Linked DNA regions of Homo sapiens: region 2 is linked to region 1. Evidence: promoter capture Hi-C in 16 types of primary human blood cells and fetal thymus (Javierre and others, 2016). All regions are on one chromosome and are shown on one strand. Each heading gives the region's core, a stretch centred on a gene start or on the middle of the fragment in contact. The rest is flanking DNA. Distances are from core to core; before and after follow the strand shown. Region 1 holds the start of ELMOD2 (ELMO domain containing 2). Region 2 has its middle 4.3 kb from the start of SMARCA5.

Region 1 (3,382 bases), core at 597-3,096:
CCAAAGAGAATAAGAAATAGAGATGGACAATCTTTCCTGAGAAACAGGATTTGTTTAATGTATCTGCCAGTTACATGCAAGTGAATTAGTGGAAAAGGGAAGAGGCAAAAGGTATGCATAAGAAGTTTTAATGTACAGTGACCCTGCTTATAATAAATGCAGCTTAATCAATTTCTCTGGTTCTGACAAAACATATCAGCATTCTCTTCTCTTGGGGAAAGACATAAATGGAAGTGGGCAAACAGGCAGCAGGGAAACAAGGAGGAGAGAGTTCCTCTACTGCACTGCCTACACTTAGTATAGCACTTTGAAAAGGCAAAAGGATTACATATAGAATTATCTCACCTTCTACTATGTAAAAGTTTGTGTAATAATGGAGATCCTCCTGAAATAGAAGTTAGTTTACAGGTCAATTTGCCAAATCGGCTGTGCACTTTGCCTTTCTAAATCTTTTAATCTATAATTTTAAAAATTACATTAGATGATAGTTATAAGTTCTCTTTAAGATTTAAGATTCTGTGATTTTACTATTGTAGTGTCTATCCAGACTTCATTACCAAGTTCATTGTTGGTATGGGACAGGGATGACGGCTTATGCACCCTGCACATGGCTAGTGTTCTACAATTAGTCCATTTTTTAAACGCTGGTTGAGATGTGGGAAAGTATGTATCACTTGCTTCAATTCAAGGAGTTGGAAGGAATATACATATATACACTTGCATATAATATTTTTGGAATTAGAAACAAGAAAGTAATACTGGTTGCTTCTGAGCAAGGTGACGGAGGTATCAGGAGTTTTGGGTGGATGGGGAAATTTGTTTTCAGTATCAGTTGTCCTTTGTATTTATATTCTACTCTCCCCCTTGCTCTTTCTCCTCCAGCCACCCCGGCCTTCTTGCTCTTCCTCCAACATTTCAAAAACCCTCCCAATTCAAGGTCTTTGCACTTGTCATTCTGGTGCCTGGATCACTCTCCCTCCAGATACTCCCACAGTAAACTCCCTTACTTCGTTCAATGAGGCCAAAATGCCACGTTAATAATGAGACTTCCTTGACCACACTGTATGCAATGACTTCCCCCACAGACTCCCCATTACCCCTTAGCTAACAACCCCTATACCCTTAACATTTAGTAGCATCTGACATATTAAATATTTGGCTGTTTGTTTCGTGTTTGACTGCCTTTTGGAACACTGCCTGTGCTAACAATCAACAAATACTTGTTGAATTAAGAAACTTACTGCTTGAGGTTTTTAAAAAGTAATCACGAAATTACTTTTTCAACAAAAACAACCAGTTAGGGAATAAACATTTGATAAATTAACTTTTAGACCTATAGTATTATAGGATAAAGTCCAAACTTCGTTTCTCAACACATGGACTTTCCTCATCTGCCACGTATTGGCCACAGTCAAGTAGCCGGTTCCCTTTTCTCGTGCATAAAGTGGAGTTATTCATAATTACTTCACAGAATTAAGATTCAATGCAGATGAAAGCGCTTTTGTAACTAAGGCACTATAAGTTACCGTAAGCACAGGGTTTCTTCCGCGCTTGGAGCCTAGGAATAGTACAAGGTGTCAACCCGCGCTAAGGACCTGAGGTTCAAGGAGGGAAAAGTCTCCAGCGCAGCGCTAGGAGGCGCTACTCCGGCGCGGGGCGGGGCTCCTGGCCGCCGTTGCCAGGGAAACCGTCTGGGCGTCCCTAGTATCTGAGCCCTCGCGCCTGGGCCACTCAGCTCGACCTCTCTCCAGCGTTAGCAATAGGTGGAGCGCGGGCCAATCGGAAGAGGCCGGAGGGGCGGGGCGGGCAGTGGCCCTGGGAAGGCGGGTCCGCGGCCTCGCTCCCTGACTTCCGGGTCGCGGTGCTTGAAGGGAGTGTTCCGTCGTTTCCGTTGCCGGCTGTTTGCAGTGGGGAAACCGAGGCAGCTCCTGCTCCCCCTAGTTCTTCCGCTCCTGTGAGGTGGCTGCTGTTTCTTTTCCTCTTGCCCCGGATGCCTCGGTGCGGCTGCACTGAGAGCGCGCGGGCTCGCGAGCCCCGCGGGGTTCTGCGGGAACCCGGGGGCGCCTGGGCCGGCGGGTCTTTGTGCGAGCCCTGCCCTCCCATTCGCGGGCGGCGCGCGAGGGGGGTCGGCGCAGAGACGCCCAGAGCCCTGGGGTGCTCAGGCGCCGCTACGCGTGCATCCCCTCTGCTCGGCAGTTCTGCGCTTTTGTCCTAATGAGCGCGGACTAGATGGCTTGATTTTCAAGATAATGATCAACCCAGCTGTGCTATGCGCTCTTTCTGCACTGACCTGCGGGTACTTCGAACTTCGACAGTCCCTCCTCAGGCCCTAGTCCAGAGGTGACGTGTCTGTGGGAATGTTTAAGGCAGGAAGGAGACGAGCAATTTTGTTTTTAAGTATCTCCCTCTCACTAGTATCTCCCTGACTTTTTCATTTAGAAGCTGAAGAATTTTCTTATGGCATAAGATATAGTTGTATCGAGTGTGTACTTAGCAAAACAAAAACTTGTTAGTATTTCTGCCCTTGACCTATTGAATGGAAAATCAAGAATGAGCTAAGGTGTTATATACTCAGTGTTCAACTTGTATACTTAAGTTTGTAGTGTTTTTATTTGCTGGCATCACCTGACTGGGACAGTTGTAACGAATTATCCACATGGGATAAGAAGAGTGTATTCTATAAAAACAACTCTGATGTTTTGGTATATATTTTAATTGTTGATTAGTTGGAGTCCTCTTGATCTTGAACTGTTGAGCCCCAGTTCTCAAAGAATGGGAAGTTAGGAAACTAAGATATGAAATACAATTATTTAGCAAAAAGTGCAAACCATTCTGTTACTCTTTCAAGCCATTGAATAGTTTGAGTACATTGTTTGAATTTTAGTTTTGAAAAAGTGATTAATTGGCCATTTGATCATCAATTAATAGCGGTATATATTACACCTGCCATTGTTTTTAAATGCCTAATTAAACTGTCAAAACAGACACAATGAAATGATAGATACATAATTTGAGATTTGATCAGTTGTATAAACTTTTTAAATTTTAAAATTCAGTTTAAGGTCATTAAGCTTGTCTTGTATGTTTCCCTCCTCCAGGAAAAAAAAATGTTTATTTCTTTGTGGGAGTTCTTCTATGGGCACTTTTTTCGATTTTGGATGAAATGGCTATTACGACAGATGACTGGGAAGTGTGAATTGCAGCGAATATTTGATACCTATGTAGGTGCACAAAGGACACACAGGATAGGTAATGTTATTCAAAAAGAAAAAGTACTAATAAAAGTTTAACGGAGTGTTTTTCTCAGGACTCACAGTGACAGATGTATTTCTTTTGTATCCTGACAAGTCACTTAAACTGAATTTCATAAGCTCTGAAGTCC
Region 2 (3,757 bases), core at 60-2,559, 3.0 Mb after region 1:
TTTTCTGAGAGTTTTGTTCTAAATGGGTGTTGGAATTTTGTCAAATGCTTTTTCCTCATCAGTCAATATAATCATGTGAGTTTTCTTCTCTAGCCTGTTGATATGGCAGACAACATTGACTAATACTCAAATATTGAATCAGTGTTGAATATCTGGAATAAATCACATTTGATCAGGGTGCATAATTCTTTTTACACATTGTTTAATTGTATCTGATAATATTTTGTTAAGGATTTGTCTGTATTCATCAGTGATACTGGTCTGTCATTTTCTTTCTTATGTAGTGTCTGTCTGATTTGGTATTAGAGATAAAGCACCTTCATAAAATGAATTACAAAGTGTATCATCCTCTTCTATTATCTGCAGGAGATAGTATGGAATTGGTATTAATTCATCTTTAAATATTTGGTAGAATTTTTCATTGAAACCATCTGTGCCTGAAGATTTCTTCTTTGGGAGTTTTTAATTTATCAATTTAATTTCCTAAATAGTTACAGTGCTATTCATATGATCTTTTTATACTGTTTAAGTGGCTTGAATTTTTCAAGGAAGTGGTTTTAAGTTGTCAAATTTATGTGTGTCGTACTCCTTACTACCCTTTTGATGTTTTCAAGGTCTACAATGATAGGTCCTGTTTTATTCCTGATATTAGTGATTTGAGCTTTGTTTCTTCCTTCCTTCTTACCCTCTCTTTTTTTCCTTTCTTCCTTTCTTGTCAGACTTCCTAGAGGTTTGCCAATTTTACGTATCTTTTCAAAGAACCAGTTTTTGCTTTTTATTTTCCGTATTTAATTTTATTGACTCCTGCTCTTACCTTTATTATTTCCTTCCTTTTGTTTACTTTGGATTTATCCTTGCTCTGCTTTTTTTAGTTTTTTGAGGTGAAAGCTTACATTTGAGACTATTCTCTTTTCTGAATGTAAGCATTTAGTGTATAATTTCCCTCTAAGCACTGTTTTAGCTGTGTTCCACAAATTTTAATATATTGTATTTTTATTCTGTTCAATGTACTTTTTGATTTCTCTTGAGACCTCTCTTTGACCCATGGATTATTTAGAAGCACGTCATTTAGTTTGAATATATCCCTGGTAACATTTTGTTACTGATTTCTGGTTTGACTCCATTGTGGTTAAAAAACATACTCTGTATGATTTCACATCTTTTAAATTTGTTAAGGTTTATGGTCTATCTTGCTATATTTTCTGTGGGTTCTTGAAAAGAATGTGTATAGTCCTACTTTTGTAGAAGAAAAAAATATGTGCAGTGTTGTATAAATGTCAATTAGATCCTATTGGCTGTTGTTAAGTTCTTCTATACCCTTGCTGGTTTTCTGCCTAGTTGTAGTATCAGTTGTTGAGAGATGCTGTAGTCTCCACATATAATTGTGGATTTGTTATTTCTAATTTCAGTTCTGTCACCTTTTGCTTCACATATTTTGCAGCTCTGTTGTTTGGTACATATACATTTAAAATTGCTATGTCTTCTGGGTTGACACTTTCATCATTATATAATGTCCCTCTTTGTCTCATAATTTTCTTTGCTCTGAAGTCTACTTTATCTGATAATGATATAGCCACTCCTGTTTTCTTTTTGCTATTGTTTTAATGATATATATTTTCCATCTTTTTACTTTCAATATTTTGAGCAAAAGACTGCCTAATTTCCTTTGTCTGAAGTTCCTTTTAATAAATGAGATAAAAACTAAATAAAAAAACTCTAATTTCTTAATTGAAGCTTTGTAGTTTATTATTTCAAAAATGTTTCAAAGATGGTGGTTAAAATTTAACTTTGGATCATAATATTTGAGTTCCTAGAAATACTTTACCTAGAACCAGCCCAACAAAAAAGAAATTATTTTTTCATGAGCAGGAAGAAATGCAGAGAAAACCTGAAAAACTTTGACTACATAAACATATGCATATATACCGAGCAGACACAAAGTCTCCCACTATTTAGTTGGTGACTAAATATGAGGGGAATGAAGGGAATATATCCTTACCTGTTTATTAACAGTACAGTTAATGTTTCTCTTTAACTGAAATCTCTGTACATTGACAAATGACCTATGTGGGAGAACTCTAAAAAAGATACATACAACATGTAATCATTGGTATCTGGTGTTGGAAATACCCATTCTTAGATACAAACTCAATACAGTTTTATTGTCTTGCAGTAATCAGACTTTATTTTCTTAAGCTTTGACAAAATGAGTTGCAATGAAGAGAGGTGTTGCATTTCTTCTTTGTCCTTGAGAAAACTTTAACTCCTTTCTGTTACCATTCAAGGACACAATGCTGAGAGAGCCCTGGCTCTTCGGCACATTTTTGTCCTCTGGCAACATCTCTTTGTTCCATTGTATTTCTGTACTGTACTTGCTGTTCTAGCACATTAAATCTAACAGAGGAAATTTTAGGTGTAAACTATGTATATACATATTGGAGATAGAACACTAACATTATTTTACACTGTAGCATTCTGTTGCTGGGAATACGACTAAAGCTCTAATCCTTTCTGGTGTTTTCTTGCTACCAAACCCCTTACCCTCCTCCTTCTTTGGTTCCTCTTCTTTCAACTAGACTCTAAACCTTAGGCTTATGATTCTCAAGGATAAGACTAACACTTGAACCCAGAACTCACTATATGTCAGGCACTGTATCATGTACCTTATACTGTCTCATTTAATTTTTATGACATCATAATATTATCTCAAAATAAAGCTAGGAAAATATAATAATAAAAAGATGAGAAAATTGATTTCAAAGAGGTTAGATAACTTGTCTGCATTCACACAGCTACTAAGTTCCAGAGCCTGCACTGGAATCTAGGCTTGCCTGCTCCCCAACCCACTCTTTTACCAACACATGAATTCTGTATTATGTGATCAATTCAACAACTAGCTGCTAGTTTTAGCCTTTTAGCAGGATTTTGTGATTTGGCCACCATATTAGTATTGCTATCTGCCTGAGGAACACAGCTAATGTCCCTGTAGCTGTTTCTAGGCTTCATGTCTTTTCTGTAGCTCTTCTCTGCTTTTCCTTTCTGGTTCTAAACTCTGCCAAAAATCTTTTTCTCTGTCACTTATGCTAGATAACTGAGTTCGAGCATTCTGTGTCCTCTTGCTAGTTTCCATCTTTTCTCTATAATTTTCCCCCGAATGATTCTAATACAGCTTTCATATGATCATATGAGAAACTCACATGTAAATGCACATGTTAAAAGACAATCGCCATTTTGGAGGCAATTTTTATTTATTTATGTGCATTGTTTTCCTTGCTATTTATTGCTTTCCTTAAATAGTTATCAGACTTAAGATCCTTTCATTTATATACCTACATATAACTTTAGGGTTTCCAGACCAAGACCCAAGATTTCTACCTAAGACTATAAAAAGTGAAGAAACATTTCGAATGCTAAATTAATGTTTTAGTCTATTTAATGTAAATATAAAAATATTATTCATCAAGTATTTATTAAGTATGTGTCAGGTTCCACCCTAGACACCACTTTCTTACCCTTCCACATAATTTTTTTTCGGTGAAAGAACATTTTTTAAAATTAAAAATAAGCTTTCTAAAAATGGGGAGATGTTGGTCAAAGGATACAAAGTTTTGGTTATACAAGATGAATAATTTCTGGAGATGTAATGCACAGCATGGTAACTATTGTTAATAATACTGTTTGCATAGTTGAAATTTGTTGAGAGTAAATCTTAAATGTTCTCACCATGCTGGCAGGCAGTAAATATAAGAGGTGATGT

Evidence for each region. Contacts are between HindIII fragments. The CHiCAGO score rates a contact against its expected background, and 5 or more counts as called.
Region 2: a fragment that was not itself captured here is called in contact with the fragment with the promoter of ELMOD2 in region 1 in 1 of 17 cell types (total CD4 T cells); the score reaches 5.2 in total CD4 T cells.

Annotation. Positions count from the first base shown.
Region 1 is chr4:140,522,322-140,525,703 of GRCh38, forward strand. ELMOD2 (ELMO domain containing 2) reads left to right here and starts at 1,847. Exons shown (of 9, transcript NM_153702.4): 1 at 1,847-1,959; 2 at 3,099-3,249. The coding sequence starts at 3,108. RefSeq lists silencers at 1,549-1,898, 2,089-2,208. The HindIII fragment of the contact is 7,186 bases long and covers 1-3,069 here.
Region 2 is chr4:143,507,543-143,511,299 of GRCh38, forward strand. No RefSeq gene overlaps it. Among named protein-coding and RNA genes, the nearest start is that of SMARCA5, 4.3 kb to the right of the region's middle. The HindIII fragment of the contact is 846 bases long and covers 887-1,732 here.